3 separate regions of the Homo sapiens genome follow, and all the other regions are linked to region 3. Evidence: promoter capture Hi-C in human tissues and cell types (Jung and others, 2019). All regions are on one chromosome and are shown on one strand. The core of a region is centred on a gene start or on the middle of the fragment in contact, and the rest is flanking DNA. Distances in the headings are between cores, read along the strand shown. Region 1 overlaps SHISA6 (shisa family member 6). Region 2 overlaps SHISA6 (shisa family member 6). Region 3 holds the start of DNAH9 (dynein axonemal heavy chain 9).

What was found. The method cuts DNA at HindIII sites, captures the fragments that hold promoters and counts their contacts. A contact is called where the count stands out against the background at its distance.
Region 1: a contact is called between a fragment that was not itself captured here and the fragment with the promoter of DNAH9 in region 3, in 2 of the 25 tissues and cell types used here (H1 embryonic stem cells and spleen).
Region 2: a contact is called between a fragment that was not itself captured here and the fragment with the promoter of DNAH9 in region 3, in 2 of the 25 tissues and cell types used here (H1 embryonic stem cells and mesenchymal stem cells).

Annotation. Positions count from the first base shown.
Region 1 is chr17:11,454,329-11,458,978 of GRCh38, reverse strand. The region is part of intron 3 of SHISA6 (shisa family member 6); the gene reads right to left. Among named protein-coding and RNA genes, the nearest start is that of DNAH9, 140 kb to the left of the region's middle. The HindIII fragment of the contact is 3,898 bases long and covers 1-3,515 here.
Region 2 is chr17:11,363,793-11,368,772 of GRCh38, reverse strand. All of the region lies in intron 2 of SHISA6 (shisa family member 6), which reads right to left. Among named protein-coding and RNA genes, the nearest start is that of SHISA6, 130 kb to the right of the region's middle. The HindIII fragment of the contact is 3,398 bases long and covers 111-3,508 here.
Region 3 is chr17:11,596,907-11,601,243 of GRCh38, reverse strand. DNAH9 (dynein axonemal heavy chain 9) reads right to left here and starts at 2,774. Exons shown (of 69, transcript NM_001372.4): 1 at 2,329-2,774. The coding sequence starts at 2,745. The HindIII fragment of the contact is 9,113 bases long and covers 1,452-4,337 here.

The sequences.
Region 1 (4,650 bases), core at 317-2,816, 140 kb after region 3:
CTGCCTCGGCCTCCCAAAGTGCTGGGATTACAGGCGTGAGCCACCATGCCCGGCCCATAATGTCTTTTACACCATAACTCCTTTTAATTCTCACAACTACCCAACGATGGGAACAGGCCGGGATTATGCCTGTTTGTCAAGTGAGACATCGGGACCCAGAGAGGTTAAGTGACCTTTCAAAGGCCACACAGGGAGTAAGCAGCAGATCCATGTGGAGCCTGTCTAAATCTGGGAGGAGCATTATGCTATCTTCTCAGGAGAGTAGCATGGGTCAGAAGATGCTGCACTGGAGGCTGGTTCTCCCAGAAGATAGAAAAGTGGGTTTGTGCACTGAATAAGGGGGCCTGGCTCAGCCTGAGAGTTTGCAGAGGGGCCCCTCATCCTGGCCATCAATTGTCTGCATCCATAGTTTGGTCTCCTCCAGGAGAGCAGATCCTTTCTACCAAACAGCCTCATCCATCCTCATTAGCACATGGTCTGCTACACTCAACAGCGTGGCGACAGAAATCATCACTCCTTCTTCGGCGTCTGCTTCTGTAGGGCTCAGAGCTCACTCCTTGGGATATTGAGCTTTCTTTATTCCCTGACAACACACCCAGGGGAGGGGAGAGTGAAGAACAAAGAGAGAGGAGGAACATTACTATCAGAGCCCACCAACTAGCTTTGCAAGGTTGACTTCTTTTCATCATTTCATTAAGGTAACATCACAATAGGCAGACATGTTCACCACCTACAGATGAGAAAACCGAAGCCTGAAGAAGTTGCATTATCACCCAGAAGATACTCACTGGTTGGACTTAAGATAAGTCTGGTGAAGTATTTAAGGCAATTCTTAACACATGGTAAGTGTAAGACCCTGTTTTTTCAGGCATTCTATTTTTTTTTTTTTTTTTTTAGACAGAGTCTCGCTATGTCATCCAGGCTGGAGTGCAGTGGCGTGATCTCGGCTCACTGCAACCTCTGCCTCCCAGGTTCACGCCATTCTCCTGCCTCAGCCTCCTAAGTAGCTGGGACTACAGGCACCCGCCACTAAGCCCGGCTAATTTTTTGTATTTTTAGTAGATACGGGGTTTTACCACGTTAGCCAGGATGGTCTCAATCTCCTGACCTCGTGATCCACCTGCCTCAGCTTCCCAAAGTGTTGGGATTACAGGCATAAGCCACCGTGCCCGGCCCAGGCATTCTCTATTTTTATGGAAGGCATCTATCTATCTCATCTGTCTTTTTTTTTTTTTTTTGAGACTGAGTCTCACTCTGTCACCCAGACTGGAGTGCAATGGCGTGGTCTCGGCTTACTGCAACCTCCACCACCCGGGTTCAAGCGATTCTCCTGCCTTAGCCTCCCAAGTAGCTGCGACTACAGGTACATGCCACCATACCCAACTAATTTTTTTTTTTTTTTTGCATTTTTAGTAGAGACAGGGTTTCACTATGTTGGGCAGGCTGGTCTCGAACTCCTGACTTCGTGATCTGCCTGCCTTGGCCTCCCAAAGTGCTGGGATTACAGGCATGAGCCACCGTGCCCGGCCTATCTCATCTACCTTTATGGAAGTTAATGAGAAACTGGCATTTCCCTGTGCAAGGAAAGCTTCTATTCCAAAAGACAGATTTTAACCTGTGTTGTAACTGTCGACTGCATGGGTGGTGGTGTAATTCAGAAAAGCTTCCTCGGGAAGACTGAGGATTGATGGATTAGGATCAACAGTAAAGGAGAAGGAGTGCAGGGTAGAGATGAGTGGCAGGGACACCACTGGGGAGCTACGGAATGGGTACCAGGGAGGGCTGCATGCATTCGAAACGCTGGGGCCCTTTGGAGACTTTGGGGCATCATAAATATTCAGTTGGTCACCATGCATATTCAATGAGGCAGAGATTTGCAGATAGGCTCTTGAGAGAGCTGGAACTGACAAGGGGGACTGACTTCTTTTAAGAATCTCCCAATATCAAGGGAGCATACGGCACAGCAGAGAACTGGATGAGATTGTAGGTAGTGGCAAAGAGCCAGAAGCTTCGATGAAGGGAAGTGGATGAGTGACAGCCTACAGGAGCTGAGGACCCTGCTAGAAAGACTTGAAAAGCATCCCCCAGTTGAATGGCCAGGGTACACAGTGGAATTGTGGGTCTTATTATTTCTATCTGTGTGTAACACTCTATAATCTCTGGGGAGTTTTTCTTGCTTGACAGGTTCTTATAAAATCCCAGAAATATAGCCCTAAAGAGAATATTTGAGACAGCCTCCAAGTCCTGCAGTTCTTCGTGTGCAGAGGGGGGCGGTCCAGCCCTGGTGAGGGCTAAGGGCTCAGGTCCCCTCCCACCTCCGACAGCGTGGCCTCAAGGTCATTTGCTTCACTTAGGAGGTTCAAAGAACTATTTCACTGGAGGACATGGCTCTGCAGCTACAAAACAAAATGTGTGAAAACCAACTATCTTGTCTGAATTCATCATCTTATGGATGTAGATGCCTGGAGCTAGAGGAGGGAAGAGTCTTAAGTTAGTGGCAGAATCCAGGCTAGAACTTAGCTGTGCTCATACCCAGGGTCCAGTTTCTGCTTATTTCTGTTTGTGAAGGAGACTGCTTATGGAACCAGGTGACTGTCGGCACACTGAGTGCCTCTGGAAGGCACTTAGGAAGAGGAGAACTCCCCTGGGAAGTCACAGCCCCAGTGAGCAAAATGGCTCCCTCCACCAGGTGCCTCGGTGCAGAGCACAACCGGTATGACCATCCATATCAAGTAACAGAGGTGGGTTTGGCAGGGCCCATGTGCTGTTGGTGTATCCTCCTCCCTCCCTCCGGTCCTCCGTCTCCCACCACTTTTTGAAAATGTGCATTTAGTAAATGCCTCCTGCATGCACAAGGATGCTTTCATGACTCATCTCATAAAGAATGCCCTTGGAAAGGTAAAGCGATGGGTTTACATTTACAAAGCGCCTTTCTAACCATGACAATTTTAAATTGTTGGGAGGACAGGTCTGGGTGCTGTTAAGACAATATGGACTTCCATATATTTGAACATCTACGGTCAAACCTCAATCCTTCACGCACCCTAGAAGAAAATGCACTCATTTTAGTATCAACAGGATTTGGAGAATATCTTAAAATGATGTGTATTGCTTTGAGTGCAAAGGTACTCCCAAGAGCTTTTCGATGACCAGAAGGGTTTTCGATGGCCAGTAGGTAGTGCACCCACTGCAGATACAAATAGTACCCAGCGTAGTGCCCTGCTGTGAGGATGTCGCCTTCTAAAATGGAATGTGACCCCTCTCCCATGGTTTCTGTGCAAATTGGGGGTGTCAGGGAAAAGGAAATGCTCAGCGGGGTGAGAACCTTTACTCCTGGGCTCTTCTGGGAGCAAAGTGTGAAGGGTCTGTGTTCTGTTCTTGTGAAGAGTGCCATTTGGGTGTGACGCTCTCCACGCTTGTACACACACTTCCACGCTTGTACACACACTTCCACGCTTGTACACACACTTCCATCTGTGCAGACTCAGTAAATATTTGTGAAAGGAATAAACAGTTTTGTTCTCCTAAGAAGGCTGGAACTCCTCTTCCATGAATTTGCTTCCATCATTATTATTTTTAGTCTCACATTTACATCACGTTTGCTGTGTGCCAGGCATTGTTGTAGGTGTTCAGCATATGTTGACTCATTTCAATTCTAACCTTATGAAGTAGGTGCTATTATCCCATATGAAATCTCCACAAACTCCCTCTCTTTTATTTTATTTTAAATAAGGAGTACAGGATGACATTGCATTGAGTCATTCATTCATTGAACTGTTTTTTTTGTTTGTTTGTTTGTTTTGTTTTTTTGAGACAGAGTCTTGCTCTGTCGCCCAGGCTGGAGTGCAGTGGCGTGATCTCGGCTCACTGCAAGCTCCACCTCCTGGGTTCACACCATTCTCCTGCCTCAGCCTCTGGAGTGGCTTGGACTACAGGTGCTCACCACCACGCCCAGCTATTTTTTTGTATTTTTAGTAGAGACAGGATTTCACCCTGTTAGCCAGAATGGTCTTGATCTCCTGACCTCGTGATCCACCCACCTTGGCCTCCCAAAGTGCTGAGATTATAGGCATGAGCTACCGTGCCCAGCCCATTGAACATTTTTAAAGCACACCTGCTATGTGTCAGGAACTGCTCCAAGTAGGAGTGACAACCAGGATGAGTTCTCTGCTCTGAAGGTTCTCCCATTTGAATCGGAAAGAAATAGATAACAAATGAGTGAACAAATGTCTATAAAAATAACCCATTTGGATAAGCGCCATGATGGACATGAAGGGCCTTTGAGAAAGTGGCATTTAGACTAGGGCATGAAGGAGCCACACGCCTGGAGCACAGAGAAAAGCATTTCACAGTGCGGGCAGGGTGTCCACAGGCCTGAGGTCTGGGATGGCTCAGCTTGGTCTGGGAACTCACAGGAGGCTAATTGACTGTGCAGGACAATGAAGAGGAAAGTGGAAAATTGGCTGAGTGTAGCCATGGGCCAGAATGCAGAGTCCTCTGAAGGCCAAGTACAATGGGATGTCAATGGGAGGCTTGAAGTAAGGAGTTATCTGATCAGATTAATGTCTGAAAAGGATCACTTTGCCCGCTCTGTGGAGAACAGGCTGTAGGAAGAGGGTGCAGAGAGGATGTCGGATGTGGGCAGAGAGG
Region 2 (4,980 bases), core at 560-3,059, 230 kb after region 3:
AGGCAGGAGAATCACTTGAACCTGGGAGGCAGAGGTTGCAGTGAGTCAAGACTGTGCCACTGCACTCCAGCCTGGGCGACAGAGCAAGACTCTGTCTCAAAAAATAAATAAATAAATAACCGAACAAACGAAAAACAAAAAACCCCAACAATTCATATAAAGCACAGTGCCCCTTACAGTTATTTGATAAATAGTTACTATCATTACTAGTACTACTACCATTACTACTAGAAGAGCAAAACTCAAGTATACTGAATATTTCAAAATATTCCAGGGAGAAAGTCAAGGAAGAGTCTTAAGTCCAAAATTATTCAAAGCTCCAGGAAGGACTCTTCTCTACCCCATACTTCTGGGAGAGTATCAGTTTTCATGCTGGTAATGTCATGGTTTAGGGCACTCACTGCGATTCTCCTGAATGTGCTTTGGAAAAAACAGACCCGCTAATTAAGATTAGTAGGAGAAAACACGTCAGCTCATCTCACCTCCAAAAGGAAGCGCTCCATCTCACACCTGCCTGCACTGGTTCCTCTGTGATTCTGTGATCCCTGTCTTGCTCCTGACATGCTGGGAAATTTCATGTTTGTGTGGGTTGGACCATGTCCTTGGCTCTGAGACAGAATTTGCTTGGACACACCGAGTCTTGTACTGTATTGTCCAAATGTAGTCACGTGTATAGAGCGTCTTGTGGGATTTTGTCATCTATTGTCTCTTGATTCTTTGGAAAAGTGGGTCATGTGAGTGACTTGGGGTTAGATTAATTCAACTTTGGGAAGATGATGGAACTATAAGCACTCTAGGTGGGGGAGCTGTCCGGCCAGCATCTGCTCAAGGGACCACACCTCTTCCCAAGCACCTAAGAGAGAACTTTCCAACCCAGAGCAAAATAAACAATTGGAGAGGGAGAAAATTTGAGGGGCTAAACTATTTTTCAGACTGTAATGCCCAGTAGGAAGGTGATTTCATTTGCAGACTGTTATACCCTGAGCCTTCCTTGCCTCCTTATCCAGTTGTGTTGGCATGGTCCATCCTCAGCATCCTCAGCCTCCATCTCATTCCATGCATTCACTCAGCAAAACCGCCAGTGGTGAGAGCCCACCAGCTACATCTAGTAGATGTGGGACTTTAGATGTAAAGGGCTTAGAACAGCACCTGGGGTGTGTTCACCAATATCACTGTGACTGCCCAGGGTCTCTTAGAATTGAGAACCACAAGTTTCAAAGGGCCCCTCACCTCTTGGGAATTGTGCTTTCCTTCCCTGGAATGTTGGTTCTTCCAATTCCCAAATGTTTTTTATAGTTTCTGCTGTTCCTGAAACCTCCAGTGTTCCCTGTTCTCTGTGCCCTTCAACTCATGACCTTGCCTCATCGGAAAGGAACTCTGTTGTTCACAGGGAATTTACAGCCATCCCCTTTCTCTGTCCTCCCTGCTATGAAAGTGAGTCCAATGTCCTTGTTCCAAGCATGGCCTATCCCTTTTCATCATCTCAAGGACTTAGCTCCTGAAATTCTCCCTCTCCTCCTCAGTCATCAATTTCTCTCCCTCAATGGGCTCATTCATACTGAAACTTCTCAACTCTTATGACTTTACATGTTCTATTCTCCCTTCACCCCATTCCCCCAGCCAAGTCACCGTCCCATTTCTCCACTGTCCTTCTCTATGAAATGTCAAAAGAGTTGCTGATAGTAACTTTCTTTGCCTCACAGTTTGTCCTCAATTCCCTCTTGCCCATCCTGTAGGTCTGTCTGTCCATCTCTCCTTTCCGTTCTTCTTATCACCATAAATCCTTATCATATGGATTAAAGTCCAACCTAATTCAGTATGACCTCATCTTAATTTGATTATATCTGCCAAAATCCTGATCTCAAGTAAGGTTCAGCAATTCGGACTTCAACATATCTTTTATGGGGGCAAAATTTAACCCATGACAATGGCCAAAAGAAAACTTTATTCCTGCAACCCTCCACATACACCATTTCTCCTCCAGTCTTTCTTGTCATTGCTTCCTCTGTTCTAGAGCCTTTATTCCTCTCTTCATCTTCTCCTCCCTATCATCAGCAAGGCCCATCAGGACGATTTGCAAGCTTCATTTCACATCCACCCACTCTTCTCCATCTGTCCTGCCACCTCCCAGGAGTGCTGCCACCATCCCTCATCTGACCTGCTACAGCAGGAGGACTGAGCTTCCTGCTTCCACTCCTTACCCACTTCCATCGACTCTCTAGATTCTCTGCATAACACACAGAAAAGTCTTCTCCTAAAAATAGACATCTGCTCATTCTATGCCTCTCCTTAAAATCTTCCAAGGCGTCATATTACACTTAACATACAAATGTAGCTGGGCACAGTGGCTCATGCCTGTAATCCCAGCACTTTCTGAGGCCAAGGCAAGCAGATCACTTGAGCTCAGGCACTTGAGACCTGCCTGGGCAACAAGGCGAAACCCCACCTCTACAAAAAATTAGCTGGGCATGGTGGCATGTGCCTGTAGTCCCAGCTACTCAGGAGGCTTAGGTGGGAGGATCACCTGAGCCCGGGAGGTGGAGGTTGCAGTGAGCCAAGATCCTGTCACTGCACTCCACCCTGGGTAACAGAATGAGATCTTGTCTCAAAAATATACATATATACAAATGTAAAATAATCTACAGGACATTACACACCATGGCCCTGCCAGCTTCCCTCCCTCACACCACTTTTCCCTTGGCTCCCTATAGCCATAGCAAATTCCTTCTGTTTTTCTAGCATTCCCAGCTTATGCCTGTCTTACATCCTTTGCACTTGCAGTTCCCTCTTCCTGGAACTCTCTGTCCTCAGATGTTTGTAAACCTAGATTCTTGTTAATCATTTAGATTTTTATTGTAAGGCTTGCCTCCTGAGAGAGACTTTCTCTAATCACCCAATCTATTGTAGGCTCCCCAACATTCTCTATCACATTACTGTATTTTCATCAAGGGCATGTATCATTCTATAAAACTATCTTGTTCACCTACTTGGTTATTGTTTATTGTCCATCTCCCTTCTTAAAGCTTCCACAAGAGGGATATCCTGTACCTAGAGCAGTGCTGGGCACATAGGATATATCTGTTGATAGTTGCCAATGGATTAACGGACTAAATGAACTTCTCTCAATATTATTAAATTCCTGTCAACTGTCTAAGAAAACTTTATAACATAAAAATATAACTTTAAAAATAATTTGGCTGAGTGCAGTGGCTCACGCCTGTAATCCTAGCATTTTGGGAGGCCAAGGCAGGTGGGTCACTTGAGGTCAGGAGCTTGAGACCAGCCTGGCCAACATGGTAAAACCCCATCTCTACTAAAAATACAAAAATTAGCTGGATGTGGTGGTGAGTGCCTGTGATCTCAGCTACTTGGGAGGCTGAGGCAAGAGAATCGCTTGAATCTGGGAGGCAGAGGTTGCAGTGAGCCAAGATTGTGCCACTGCACTCCAGCCTGGGTAACAGAGTGAGACTCCAACTCAAATAATAATAATAATAATAATTTCAACCAATAATATCCTTATATGTAGGACAACCTTAATAGAATAAGGGATTTCTTTACCTGAATAGTATCAATTGCAGTAGTAATAATAATAATGATAATAACAGTAGCTATAATAGTTATTATTTAATACTAAGTATTTATGAGCGAGAGCTTCTGCTTTGTAATCACTACCTCATTTAATCTTCAGAAAACTTCTTGAGGTGGTCAAGAATATCCTTTGTATTATAGGTGAGGAAACTTGAGTCTCAGAGTGTTTAGGTTTCTTGTTCCCCTTCACTTACCTCATGAATAGAAGACCTAGGGCTCAAATACAGATTTTTCATGGCTTCAAGAAAGTCTACACTTTTAACTGTAATGTAATACCACCTTACACTCACCAGAATGGCTAAAATTAAAAAGACTGGCAATACCAAATGTTGGTGAGGATGTGGAGCAACTGGAACTCTCATACACTGCTGGTGGGAATGCAAAATGATAAACCACTTTGAAAAGCTTGTTGGTAGTTTGTTCTGAAGATAAAATATTTCCATTCTATATTCCAGCAATTCCAAATCTAAAAATTTACCCAGGAGAAATGAATATATGTCCGTCAATTGACATGTGCAAGAATATTTATTGCAGCTTTATTTAAAATAGTAAAAGAATTGAAAATAGCCAGAATGTCCATCAAATGGTGATTGAATAAATAGGCTGTGGCATATTTACAATATACCACATAAATACTTATGTGAAATACTTATGTGAAAAATTATGTGAAATACTTCAAAAAGTGTGAACTGGTGACAGATGTAACAATATGGGTAACTCTCACTAATATAACGTTAAGTGAAAGCCAAACACACAAAAAAATGCATGTCACATGGCTTCATTTGTATGAAGACCAAGACCAAAGTTCTTTTGAAAGAAGCTCAAAAAACAAGCAAACAAAAATTAGGCCAAGCTATTTGATAATGACAGAAGTCAGAATAGTAGCTACCTCTGGGGGTTAAATTTAGACTGGAGAGGAACATGAAGGAAACTTATGGGGTGATGGAAACGTTCTTTATTTTTTTTCTAGGTGCTGGATAAGGGGGAGATGGATAGTTGAATAGATAGGAAAAATCCATTAAGTTATATACACAAGATTAATACACTTTATGTATTTTAGTATTTAGGTTTACCTGTTGCAGGGCAGGCAAGTCACCAAATTGGGGTTTAGCTGGGGAAGATTCTTAGCGTTGCTCAGGAAAGAATTCAAGAGCAAGCTGGTGGTAGAAGGAAACAGCTTTATTGAGGTGGCAGTGCTCCAGCTCTGTGACTGCTCCTGCAGAGCAGGGATACTCCTTAAGCAGTGCACTGAGAGTAGCACCTCAGGGGCAGTTCTGCAGTCAGATTTATATCCACTTTTAATTACATGCAAATTAAGGGGCAAGCTACTCAGAAATTTCTAGAAAAGGGGAGGTAACTTCCAGGTCATTGCCATGGAAAGGGGCAGTAACC
Region 3 (4,337 bases), core at 1,525-4,024:
TATTCACAAAAACCAAGAGACAGAAACATCCTAAGTGTCTATGATGGATAAATTTTTTAGAAATGTGGTATATACATACAATAGAATATTGTTAAAAAAAGAAAGAAATCCCGCATATGACGATAGGCGGTGACGATATGGATGAACCTTGAGGACATTATGCTAAGTGACATAAGTCAGTCAGAAGGAACAAATACTGCATGATTCCACTTATATGATGAGTCAGGTTCATAGGAACAGAAAGTAGAATGGTGCTAGCCAGGAGCTCAGGGGAGCGATGTGTGGCTTGCTGGGTGTGTGTGGAGTTTCAGTGATGCTGGACGGGGCAGTTCTGAGGATGTGTTGCACAATAATGCATATGTGGTTGACAATATTGTACTCTACACTTGGAAATTGTTGGGTGAATTTTACGTCATGTGTTTTTTTTGCCACAAGGAAAAAATTACCCTAAGGAATAACTCCGGTTGGACATGGTGGCTCACACCTGTAATCCCAGCACTTTGGGAGGCCAAGGCAGGAGGATCACTTGAGTCTAGGAGTTTGAAACCAGCCTGGTCAACATAGCAAGACCCTGCCTCAAAAAAAGGAATATTCCATATCAGTCATTCTTTTTAATAGTTGCAAAGTATTTCACTGTATAGATGGCCCATAATTCAGTCACCCAGTCCCCTGTTGATGAACATTGTTTGTCTCCAATCTCTTTCAATGCACCAATGAAAATTCTTAAACATTCGAGAATTTTCATTATTTTAAAATTATTTTTCTTGCTGGACTACTTTGCTTGGCCATGACACAACTCTGAGATGGGCCTTCTGTCTCCCACATACACTAGGTTAAATCCTGTCTCTGAACCTTTGATCAGTCTGCTCTCAGTATCTTGAAAGTTACCTTGCTCTCTACTTATACAAATTCTTCTAATTGTTCAGGAGACAATTCAACACTTATGTTAAGCATGCTTCTCAGATCACAGGCCTGTCTTTCTCCTCTGAAGCCAAAAGTACTTTCTATCGTCAACATTCATTAGAGAAGCTGATCTAAGTTCAGGCTTCAGCGGGATGGCTTTCAGACAATGCACAGTTGCAAGACCATTCTGTTTGTTAAAATATTGAAATACCTCCATATCTAAGAGATCTAGCTTCCTGGGCCCTCTGTGTCCTCCTCTATCTATCCAACCCTTTCCCTGGAATTTTCACCTCCCCACAGCCTCCTGATACACCATCTAAAGGGCTTACACTTGACATAGCAGGGAGACTCCAGGACTTGCATCCAGCAGTGGGGCCAACTTTTAGGTAAGCTTTACCCTCACCCCAGTCTTAAAAGTTTGAAACATTTTGAATATATGAATTATTACATACGTTTCAGCTCCTTGGAGTAAGCATTTCATGGGTGGGAATAGTTCTTTGGTATTCCCTATAGCACCTATCACCTGAACCATCATACAGCCAGTATTCTGCCCATCCTTATTTCACAACCTGCAGGGTCCAGGGCATCAAGCCTCCATAAGCACACAGCCTGACTTGCAGGGCAGTTTACTCCCATTCCAGAAAGGTCTAAGGGGCCCAGGAATCTCTCTGGAGCACTTCCCTGAAATCTCCTGCATTCTCGAAGCTTCTGCTGTGGTGCCACTAAAGCACTCATGACCCACATCTCCACCTTCCTCCCTGAGCTTCAGGCAGACTCCTCCAAAGGCCTGCTGGGCATTTCCAAATGGGAGCCCAACTTCTTATGCTGGCACAGGGCTGACCTTTGCTAAATGGTTGGTAATGAATGAATGAGATGAAAATCAAAAGCAAATCACTACCCACCTCCCCCTCCCATTTAACTGCTCTCCAGAAGTAGGCACTGTTTATAGCCATCCACCTCCTTCCACCCCACTGATCCATCAGAAATGCCGTCTTGTCCACTTCCCATCTTCTTCAGATCTTTCCAATTTACAGGAGGGATTACGAGAGGCTGATTTTGAAAGTAGTCAGAACCTAGGCACTCTTCAGATTATGGTCTTCCCCTGACTTTGGCTGGAACCCAGACCCGGACTGACCCAAGCCTCAGCTCCTTCCCATTCTCATTCTGGCCTGGCCTCCACCCAGATCCCTCCCTCCGGACCCACCCGACTCCGCCCCTAACCCCATCCCATTTTCTTCCTGACTTCAGGAACTTCCCTCCTGGTTGTGCTCCCTCCACAGCCTCGCCCCTCTGCCTATCACTCCGCCTCTTGGACCTCCCCTGCAGCTTCGCCCCGCCCCCTCTGGCCCCGCCTCCGTCCCTTAAGGCTCCTCCTCCCCTCCCCCACCCAGCTTTAGCCGCGCGGGGACACTAACCCACCCTCACCTCCGAGAACAGCGCGGCTAGGTGCTCCAGAGGTGCCGCGGGCAGGTCCCCGCAGACCACTGCGCCGCGGAAGCTGTCGGGCCCTGGAGGCTCGGGCCCGGTGCGAAGGAAAAAAAGCGCCTTAGCGCCAGCCAGGCCCGACTCAGGTCCCACCTCCAGCCCGGGGCGTATTGCCAGGCCCCTGGGCCCGGGCCGCACCACCAGCAGCGGCCGCGGCCCCTCGGCAGCATCGCGGCCCAGGAAGGCCTGGAGCAGCTGCTCCGCCTCAGCACTCCCCGCGCAACGCTCCCAGGCGCCCGCAGCCGGCCGCAGGCTCATGGCCACGTAGGTCCCCAGGAGTCGCAGTCGTCGGTCGGCGCCGGGTTCCCCATCCGCGTTCTCCGCCGCGAGCGCGGCCCGCTCCTCCGCGAGCCGCATCGCGCGCGGCCTCCAGCTGCATCGGTTTCCCTAGCGACGGGGACGCGGCCAGGACTCACTCCTCTGCTCCCTTCCTATTGGGCACGGACCCCTGGTCCCGCCCCTTCCAGGCTAATAAGGTAGGAGGTGTACGCGGGAAGGGGCGGGGTCGCGTCGCTGTTGCTAGGACACCAGCCGAGACTCGTACTCAGTGTCTGCCTGGTGTATTGGGAGTGCTGAAGTGTGACCGTGGAGCGCAATGGCTTATTGATGGGCTGCGTGGAGAGGAGATCAAGCATATAAATGCTGTTAAGGATCGTTTTGGCCAAGGTCGAATTAGAGTCTTTAGAGGTCTCCAGACACTGAAAATAGTGTGGTCCTCTTACCTCTATCCTAAATGTGCAATCCAGACTTAAACACAATGCCAAATCATAAAACAGATTTAAGGACATTCAGTGAATTTTATTTCTTTTCCATGATGGCAAATTAAACACTTCAGAACAGTGCTGTCCAGTAGAACTTTCTGCGATGATGGAAATGTTTTCCATCTGTTCTAGCCACGCATGGCCTATAAAGGAGGTGAAATATGCTCGTCCCACTGAGGAAATTTTTAATTTTACTTAATTTTCACTTAAAATTAAATAGTCACATGTGACTGTAGTTATATCGAACAGCTCAGCTTCAAAATTTTAATATCAAGTTTTTTTAAGTTTTCTTCCGTGCCTTTCTTTGCCCATGTTTTTTAAGGCATGTGCTTAATCTTCTAAAAATGTAACCAAACTGTAAGAGGCTTGTTTTTGAGACAGAGTCTTACTCTGTTGCCCAGACTGGAGTGCAGTGGCCGGATCATAGTTCACCGCAGCCTCAAATCCCTGGGCTCAACTGATCCTCTGGTCTCAGATTCCCTAGGAGCTGGGAATACAGGCGCCACCACATCCAGCTAATTTTAAAAATTTTTTGTAGAGATGAGGTCTCGCTGTGTTGTCCAAACTGGTCTTGAAGTCCTGGACTCAACTGATCCTTCTGCCTCAGCCTCCCAAAGTGCTGGGATTATAAGGATGAGCCACCATGCTAGAGTTTTTGACTTCCATGGGTATGACCACTAATCAGTTCTTACTAAATGTAGCAAAGTACTTGTAAATATGCAGGATGCTCAGAACCTTCCCATCCTGCCCTATACCTGGATATTGGCTTCAAAAAGGGATAATATAAAGTGCCTTGCCTGACCTCAGAAATTAGCATTTGTTACCTGCTTAGTCCTTCTCCATGGTCAGGATAAACAGCTTGGCCCTTTGCATGCATGTAAGGTGACAGTGCATGGGTGCTGAAAAAATGGACAAACAACTTGGGCAGCATGAGGTCTGCAGGACTGAATGAGCTCCCCTCTGCCCTGCCATCCTCCCTTTAGTCACCTCCCAGGGACTGCTGAGTTTCTGGGTAAAAGGAATGTTTATAATGGGTTTCAAAGGAATATTAACAGAATAAGCACTTATCAATGGTAGCTTGGCTAACAAGAGCCCCTCGGGAAAACACCAGTGGTTGGGAAGTAAAATGATTGATTTCATAATAACTGGAGCAAAGGAGTTGCTGTAATAAAAAATGTTCATGTTAGA